Linked DNA regions of Homo sapiens: region 1 is linked to region 2. Evidence: promoter capture Hi-C in 16 types of primary human blood cells and fetal thymus (Javierre and others, 2016). All regions are on one chromosome and are shown on one strand. The core of a region is centred on a gene start or on the middle of the fragment in contact, and the rest is flanking DNA. Distances in the headings are between cores, read along the strand shown. Region 1 overlaps TBC1D30 (TBC1 domain family member 30). Region 2 holds the start of WIF1 (Wnt inhibitory factor 1).

Region 1 (4,379 bases), core at 125-2,624, 250 kb after region 2:
TTCTTCATTTTACAAGTTGAGATAGAGCTGAAATTGATTCAAATGAAGAATCACATTACCTGCCCTGATGTACACCTGATGAACCTGCTGCTGTTGCTTCTTTTTAATTCGAGAGTACTGCCGCTTCAGTGCATTGATATCTGTGGTCATGCGTTCCATCATCATACTGTTAAAAGCTGCATGGTATTCACTTCGACAGGAATTGATTGCTCCTGGACTCAGCTCTGCAATGTTATTAGATCTCAGACTCTGCTCCTCATTTGGCTCTGCGCTCGAAGGATGAGACATAAGGAGATGGTCGGTGGAGGGGAACAGGAGTAAATGGAAATTGATAACACTACAACTCAGTGCGGTATCTTAACCTCCATGAAATTCTAAACCACAGAAAAAAACGCATACTAGAGTTTGTCTAGTGCTTATTTTGATGTGCCCCTGAAAATATTTCTGCATTTTCTTATTAACCTAACTGTGGGTCTGACATGAGCTATATGGGTTCAGAGTTTGATTTTGTTACCAGTTTGTTAGCTATATAGACATAACATCAACTGCTTCCAGATGAAAATCACTGCCATTGTCTAAGATTTCCTTAGAAAGATATAACTCCTAATTTCTAAAATCACTGTACAGATTTCCACACAACGGCATGAGGATTTATACAGAATTGGTTTGTAGAGTTTAGACAGTCATTAAAAGTGCATTCTTCTTACATTAAAGGTAGTAACACAATTTATAAAATTATCAAGACTTCAGACCACTGTATCACTAGAATGAATGCTTTGTTCATTTAACAAACATTTCCTGTCCACTCTGTTGTTATATCGGATGTGGTGTCTGCTCCTGTGATAGCTACAACTAGCAGATTTGTCTCTTAAATAAAATTGAGATGACCTCCAAAAAAGAGAAACAATACTAGGTGGGAGTAACCCACAGACTACACAGGCCAAAGCGGGAGACAGCAAGCTTCTCCAGCACAATTTGTAAAACTGACATGGGAGCCAGAGTCAAAAAAAGACTGAGAGACTCCAACTATCCTAACATCTGCTGAGAGTGTTATTCAGACAAAGGCTAAACATCTCAGAAATTCATTTTTTTACTGTAATCATTTCTGTAAGGAGAAGAAAATTAAAAGAGAAACTGCTAATCAGAGCAAAATCAACAAGAAAGACTAATGATGAAATTTAGGAGAAAGTGATCATGTCATCCTAGAGCACAAAAATGCACAGAAAGAAAAACAGAGAAAAAAAAATGAAACATAGACCCAGGCTACAGAAACGCAGATTCAAAAACTTTACCATTAAAATACATATTGATCCTATGGCTAGAAATCAAAAGCTGGAACTCAGGCAATAAGAAAGGGGGTAGAAGGCATTGCAGAAATCAAGAAGACTCTTGTTGGGTTCAGATTTTTAAAAAGCCTTTAAAAGGATGACAGAAGAGCACATACCAAAGACATACTCACAAAACAGTATGAGCCCAGCCATTAAAAAGGTTAAAACTCAAACAAGCTGAGGCTTGCAGGAAATACTCCAAAAGATCACCACCAAAAGTTAGAAGTAGCAGCAGCTGCTGCCACTGCTCCTATCTTCCAAATAAGAACCAAAAAAAGAGAAGATAGCCCCATGACTTCAAGAAGGTAGTAAAAAGTTAGCAGATGGCAAAGAGAACACAGAGGTGCCTGACATCTATTCAGTTTCTGTCCTCTTTCAGCATATTTCTAATATCTTTGAACAAGGAGAATGGTCTTCAAACTAGAAGAGGTAGAATAAATATCCTAAAAGAAAAGCTTCCACCCAAGACAAGAAAGGACGTAGAGAACCACAAACTTTAAAACAGTGCATAACATTGATAATTCCAGACCACAGAATTCTATTCTGTTTAGAAAAAAAAAAATGAAATAAAACATGCATGTGATTCAGAGCACAACATTTTAAGGGGAACATTACCAAATTACAGGATATCTAGAGGTAAATTAATAGAATATTAGGAGGTCCAGAAGTCATAACTTAAGAGACATGCTTAAAGAAATTCTGAACTGGGGCCTTTGAGAAAGCTTTGGAGGACATGATAGCTGTCCTCAAAGATTTGAAGAGATGTCAGGTAGAAGAGGGAGTAAGTAGACTTGTTCTGGTTTTTTCCAAAGGGAAGAATCCTCTTTTCCAGCTGGAACCATGGAGGGTGTCGAAGAGAAGAAAAAGAAGGTTCCTGCTATGCCAGAAGCCCTTAAGAAAAAGCAAAGGAATTTTGCAGAGCTGAAGATCAAGCACCTGAGAAAGAAGTTTGCCGAAAAGATGCTTCAAAAGGCAAGGAGGAAGCTTATCTATGAAAAAGCTAAACACAGTCACAAGGAATACAGGCAGATGAACAGAACTGAGATTCAAATGGCTAGGAGGGCAAGAAAAGCTGGCAACTTCTATGTTCTTACAGAACCCAAACTGTCATTTTCCCTAAGGATCAGAGGTATCAATGGTGTGAGCCCAAAGGTCTGAAAGGTGGTGGAGTTTCTTCACCTTTGTCAGATCTTCAATGGAATCTTTGTTAAGCTCAGCAAGGCTTCAATTAACATGGTGAGGATTGGAGAACCATACATTTCATGGCGGTACCCAAACCTAAAGTAAGTAAATGAACTCATCTACAAGTGTCATTATAGCAAAATCGAAAAGAAGCAAATTGCCATGACAGATAACACTTTGATTGCTCAATCTCTTGGTAAATATGATATCATCTGCATGGAGGATCTGATTCATGAGATCTATACTGTTGGAAAAGGCTTCAAAGAAGCCAATAACTTCCTGTGACCCTTCAGATTATCCTCTCCACAAGGTGGAATGAAGAAAAAGACCTCCTATTTTGTGGAAGGTAGAAATGCTGGCAATAGGGAAGAGAAGAGCTACAGGCTTATTAGAAGGATGAACTAAGGGGTCTACCATGATTATTTCTGTAATCTGGTCAGTTAATAAACAGTGATGCCTTCAAATAGAAAAAAAAAGCAAAGAGAAGAACTATTAGTAGAACGGGTAGGTGGAAGTTATCTCTTTGTAAACAGAAACCATGGACTAAGGGGAAGAATCAAGCAAAGTGTCTTGTGAAATAATAAGTTTCTTGTCACTCAAGAAATTCAAGTAGAGGTCACCATAATGTTTTGATTTAAAGGGTAATCCTATTGGAAGAGAAGCCAGTCTGGAATAAATTAAACTCAGATGGAGTATATTAAGCATCTACTATATGCCAGGGTCTGTGCTAAGGAACTTAGCATACAAAGTTGAATCCAATGCATGGGAGCAAAAGTCACCACAGAGAAAAAGAAATGTGTACTACGCATGCAACACATAATACAGAGGAAAACCATTACATAATAAAAAGATAAAGTAACAGAGAAGATACTTTTAGTAACAATTTTTTTTTTTTTTTGAGATGGAGTCTTGTTCTGTTGCCCAGACTGGAGCGCAGTGGCATGATCTCGGCTCACTGCAACCTCTGCCTCCTGGGTTCAAGCGATTCTCCTGCCTCAGCCTCCCAAGCAGCTGGGACTACAGGCACGCACCACCACAGCTAATTTTTGTATTTTTAGTAGAGACGGGGTTTCACCATATTGGCCAGGCTGCTCTCAAACTCCTGACCTCATGATGCATCTGCCTCAGCCTCCCAAAGTGCTGGGATTACAAGCGTGAGCCACCACACCCAGCCTAGTAATGACTTTTTAATGTTGTTGTTGTTGTTTGGTAGAGACTGGGTCTCCCTATGTTGCTCAGGCTAGTCTTGAAAACCTGGCTTCAAATGATCATGCTGTCTCAGCCTCCTAAAGTGCTGGGCTTACAGGCATGACCCACCATGACTAGCCTAATAAAGACTTTTAATAGTTGTAACCAGTTCAGAAAGTTACTGGGGCATCTATAGGACACAATATCACTCTTATTGTAGTAAACCAATACATCATGATAATCTAAATCAAGAGCCACCTCTTTACCTTTAATTTGTTTTTGGTACTTCTGCAGTTCAGGAGCCAGGAACCCACTAAAAGGTCCAAGACACCCCACTGCATTAACGACAGCATCCTCATCGTCTGGGTCATTCTCTTCATCACTGTCTCTGGCCTTACTATGTCGTCTTGGAAAACATAAAAGACAAAAAAGAAATATACAAAGAAAACCATGGTATTTTAAAACATAATACAGTTACATGGTTTAAATGCCATATATATAATTAACATAGAATTACATATAATTAACATTGTGAAACCCCATCTCTGCTAAAAATATATAAAAATTAGCCAGGTGTGGTGCCGCACACCTGTAATTCCAGCTACTTCGGAGGCTGAGGCTAGAGAATCGCTTGAACCCGGGAGGCGGAGGTTGCAGTGAGCCAAATCACGTCACTGCATT
Region 2 (4,876 bases), core at 415-2,914:
CTTCTGTTGTTTCTGTTTGTTTTTCCCTCTTGAGGCATCTGCTACTCTATAAAGGACTGATTGAAACACCACGCCCAGCCCCAGACATTTGATCCTTGAGGCATTTGTCACAGCTTCGGGTACTAAAGAACAAACACAAGTAAATGAACCTTTTATGAGTCCGAAGGCTAAGTTTTTTAATTAAAAACAAAACAAAACAAAACCCTTTTGCTTCCGTTTTCTTTGTGCATCCGAGGAATTAGGCAGGAGGCAAAAATCAGTTCTTTCTGCTGGGCCAGGTGGATAGGTTATGCTGCAGCCCACTGCCGGCCAAGCATGCTTCTCACAGACGAGGCCAGAGCCTTGGTTTTGCCCCCACGCACCTGTGAATTCGGCAACTTTTAAAAAATTATTTTATTTATTTATTTATATATTTTTTGAGACGGAGTCTCGCTCTATCGCCCAGGCTGGAGTGCAGTGCCACGATCTTGGCTTAATGCAACCTCCGCCTCCCGGTTCAAGTGATTCTCCTGCCTCAGCCTCCCGGGTAGCTAGGACTACAGGCCCCCGCCACCATGCCCAGCTAATTTTTGCATTTTTAGTAGAGACGGGGTTTCACCACGCTGGCCAAGCTGGTCTCGAACTCCTGACCTCAGGTGATCCGCCCGCCTTGGCCTCCCAAAGTGCAGGGATTACAGGCGTGAGCCATCGCGCCCGGCCGAATTCAGCAACTTTTAAAAAATATCAGCAAACGTGAAGATATCCACGATGTTAGAGGAGCCCTACCCCGGAGGGTCAGGTACAGCTATCGTCCAGGGCCCAGGGCACTCTTCCGGGCACTGCCGGGTTATCAGGGAGACAGACGGGAATCCCCAAATGCTGGGTGTCGGGCAAGTACCAGCTGGACGCCCTGCGCCTCGAGCCAAGGCCAGCGCCTGCCATCGGCACCATCGGACAGTCGAGCCTCGAGTTTTAACTGCTTGGGAGCGCGCAAAGTGCCAGCCTATCGCAGAACGGAGCGCATAGGGTTGGCGGAGAGAGGAATCCTACTGGCTGAAAGGGAGACGAAGGGCAATTTGCGCCTTCAGTGAGCGCCGGAGGAGGAACAGGAGTCATCACCTCATCATCATCATCATCATCATCATCACCATCACCATCACCATCATCAGCACTCAGTCAAGCCCAGCGTTGTCTGCTCTCCCCATTTCCCTCCCCCGAAGCCTCCCTTGGCCCGAGGAGGTGGCGAGTGATGTCCCAGGGGTCTCTGAGTGCCCTTCTCCGGGTCCGCCAGCCCTACACGCCCACTTCGCGGGCGCTCCACTGGGCGCACCGCACTGTGAATGCAGCCTCGGGGGTCCCTCGCGGCCCCGCCCCCGGGGGGGCCCCACAGCGCCCCCAAGTGGCGGCCGCCCAGGCCTCGCGGGCCCCACTCCTCGCTCGCACCTCGCTCGCGCCAGCCCTTCCCGCTCTTCTGTTCTCGCTCTATTTGCCCCGCTGACTGCTGGCCTCGCCAGCTTTGCCAGTCTTACGTCTCTGCCGCCCCCACTCCCGCCCGCGCCCCATCTTCTTGCGCGACTCGCGCCCGCTGGTCCCCCCCTCCTCCTCCCGCGTCCTGCCTGCCCCCTCCTCCTGCTCTCGCAGGCTCCTTGGCACCCAGGCCGGGAGGCGACGCGCCCAGCCGTCTAAACGGGAACAGCCCTGGCTGAGGGAGCTGCAGCGCAGCAGAGTATCTGACGGCGCCAGGTTGCGTAGGTGCGGCACGAGGAGTTTTCCCGGCAGCGAGGAGGTCCTGAGCAGCATGGCCCGGAGGAGCGCCTTCCCTGCCGCCGCGCTCTGGCTCTGGAGCATCCTCCTGTGCCTGCTGGCACTGCGGGCGGAGGCCGGGCCGCCGCAGGAGGAGAGCCTGTACCTATGGATCGATGCTCACCAGGCAAGAGTACTCATAGGTAAGGCCCCCGCCTCCAGCGCCTTCCCCTGCCTATGTCCTCCTCTCTCCACTCTTCAAGAAAGAGGGATACCTGCGTTTCTTGTGTTTTAAAACTTAATTTCCACAAAAGAGTGTTCCCCTCTTTTAATTAGATATTTTCCATCTGAAAGCTTATAAACTTCTCTTTTAAGAAACCAAAGCTGATCTAGTGTTCTGATCATGCTGTTGTTAATTTTTATAGCCCTGCGTTTTTAGGTGCACCCGGCATTTTTTTGCGTCGGTTAACTCCATGTCCATCCCTTTTCCCTGAAAGCATGGGTCTGTTGGCATCATTCTCATCATCCACAGAGAAAAATTAATCTTAGTAGCGTTGATGGTACTGAAGGCAGATGCTTGTGAACAGAAATGACCCACACTAATTCTTTGGTTTTCTTTTTGCTTGAAACTTCTGATTTAGATGATTTCAAGTCTACCTGGTTTGATCGTTTTATTATTTTAAAAACCAGGATTTGAAGAAGATATCCTGATTGTTTCAGAGGGGAAAATGGCACCTTTTACACATGATTTCAGAAAAGCACAACAGAGAATGCCAGCTATTCCTGTCAATATCCATTCCATGAATTTTACCTGGCAAGCTGCAGGGCAGGTAAGTTCTGAGAAAATTACCCTTTAATATTTCCACTGCCTTATGGCAGGTGGAAATAGTACTGTATAGTGTGTAGCCTGGTACATTTTACAGTTATTAAGAGAAATTTCTCATCTGATTGCCAAAGCAAATAAAGAATTAATTTCCATTTATTTCAAGTTGCCATATCAATTAATGATCTTCAAAAGAAAAGAACAAGCCTTGTGCCTAAGCCCATTATTTTGATAAGACTCAGTGTCCTGAGGCTGCTGGAAATATAAAGACCTCCAATACCAACATCACTGTGTTTCTGTGATCATTGACATTAAAATTTAACATACTTAAAGGACTCTTTTTGCATAGTAGTTTCTAATCACTTGTGACATTCTTCATACTTTACAACAAATTTTAAAGTTTGTAAGTATTTTTGACATTGTGCACTTTTAAAAAGTCAGTATGTTGAATGTTATTCACTGGAACGTGAATGTTGCATATTTCTGGTAGAAGTTAGACCCAAAAGGTGTCATGTAAGAACGTTATAAAATATTGCAGCCTATGTTTTCAAGTTACCATTTTAAATGCTTTCATATGGAAAAGAAAACTGGAATCTATTTTTTATGAAGAAGCATTCCTTTTATTCCTTAGCACATTAGCATCTTTTATATGTTACCTTTTGTACATTTTTATGGCTTCTAATTTTAGAAAGAAAGAATAAAATGCTTATGTAAATTTAATTTCTTTTGTACAATTGGAGAATTTACTCTAGAGGACAAATGGTAAGCAATGCATTCTTCAGCTTATTAGTTGGTAGAATGTGTCTACTATGAAAATCATTATAATTATAATTAAAACCACATTTTTCGGTCTTTTATTCTAAAGTTCCTTAAATGATTATTTTCAAGAAGAATGTGATACCGAAAACACTTTATAAAAAATAACTATTTTGAATTGAGAAACCACTTTGTTTCCCTCTAATTACCTGTTGTGGTATAGACATGACCTTTTTAGCTGTCTTTTTCCCTTCAAGTCTGTTCTCTTTTTCTTCTTCTTCTGAAATAGATCAAATCTAGAACCTTCAACACTTCCATTGCTATGTGGTTAAAAAAAATTGAGGTTTTGGATTCACTGAGGTTTATAACAGGAAAGTCATCTATTGTTAATACCCCCATTTTGCAGATAGGTTCATCGAGGTTTCCATTGCTCTATAGGGAGATTATTCCTTTTCTCCCTACAAGTCCCTCTTCATAGATACTTCATAAACAATTAAGTTGGGAATATTGTGAAATCAGTAATAAACCAACGAATGGCCTTTCATTTTCTCCTTTTCAGCTGAATCTGTTTACTTATGGCTGACCGCTCATCAGATGGTCATTAACTAAGTGGCCAATTAATTCTATATTTTTGAAAAGACATTTTTTAACCTATACCTTTATGGGTTCGTAAGAATCAATAAAAGGCAGTTTGAACTGCACCCTTCCATCTGAAAGGGTTTGGTAACTGGTTAACTGTAGGAAAAGCAGAAAGTGCCAATAGCTCTCTCGTGCGCACTCTCTCTCTCTCCCCCTCTCCCTCCCTCCTCTCTCTATCTCTTTCTCTCTCACTTATGTTTGTCTGTTGAAGAATAGAATTTGAAGCAAAGGCTTAAATTCCATGTTGCTTTTATCCTATTGCTTAACAGTATAATGCATGTTTGCAAATATTGGCATACTGGTGAGTACAAAATGGACTGACATGTCATACAATCTCAGGAATATGTCCTGCAGGGAATTAGGGAGGAGAGTGGAACTGGCATGAAGAGGAAGTTTGTAATATTTTTTTCTCCTGCTTAAGTGTTGCTCACCTATGTGGATGATCTAATGATGCAGGACAATGTTAGCACCTCAATTAAGCTACCTTTCTCTCTCTACTCATTCGGCTTTGAATAGGTTACCACAACTAACTACATAAAATCTGCTTTCTGGGGAAAGGGTGGTGAGGGGGAAGAATCTACACAATACCAAGCAGCAAGATGCTTTAAAATATTATTTTTTTATGTTTAATATTATTTAAGTATGGCTAATTTTGCTTACTAAAGTTATGTGATCCCAGCACCATAATTTTTGAAATGCACAGAAATTCTGAAGATGGGAAAAATGACTTCAATACCAATTAGTATTTTGAAAGGTATCTATGGCTAAAGCCAAACCACATCAAAACATTTACATGGAAAATGAAAATTTCATTTCATTATCTGATTATTTCATCCAAATGATATCAAATATTTAGGCATTTCAACAATACATAAACAAAACACATAGCTCATTAATGAAGTTTTAAATTTTATATTTAAGTGTTTTAGCAACATG

The links. The method cuts DNA at HindIII sites, captures the fragments that hold promoters and counts their contacts. A CHiCAGO score of 5 or more calls a contact.
Region 1: a contact is called between a fragment that was not itself captured here and the fragment with the promoter of WIF1 in region 2, in 1 of 17 cell types (endothelial precursors). The highest score is 6.2, in endothelial precursors.

The regions. Positions count from the first base shown.
Region 1 is chr12:64,866,489-64,870,867 of GRCh38, reverse strand. TBC1D30 (TBC1 domain family member 30) reads right to left here. Exons shown (of 12, transcript NM_015279.2): 10 at 3,965-4,104; 11 at 60-266. It also overlaps the pseudogene RPL7P39. Among named protein-coding and RNA genes, the nearest start is that of LINC02389, 15 kb to the left of the region's middle. The HindIII fragment of the contact is 823 bases long and covers 963-1,785 here.
Region 2 is chr12:65,118,093-65,122,968 of GRCh38, reverse strand. It overlaps WIF1 (Wnt inhibitory factor 1), which reads left to right and starts at 1,664. Exons shown (of 10, transcript NM_007191.5): 1 at 1,664-1,925; 2 at 2,413-2,552. The coding sequence starts at 1,778. RefSeq lists a silencer at 1,344-1,503. The HindIII fragment of the contact is 2,494 bases long and covers 1-2,078 here.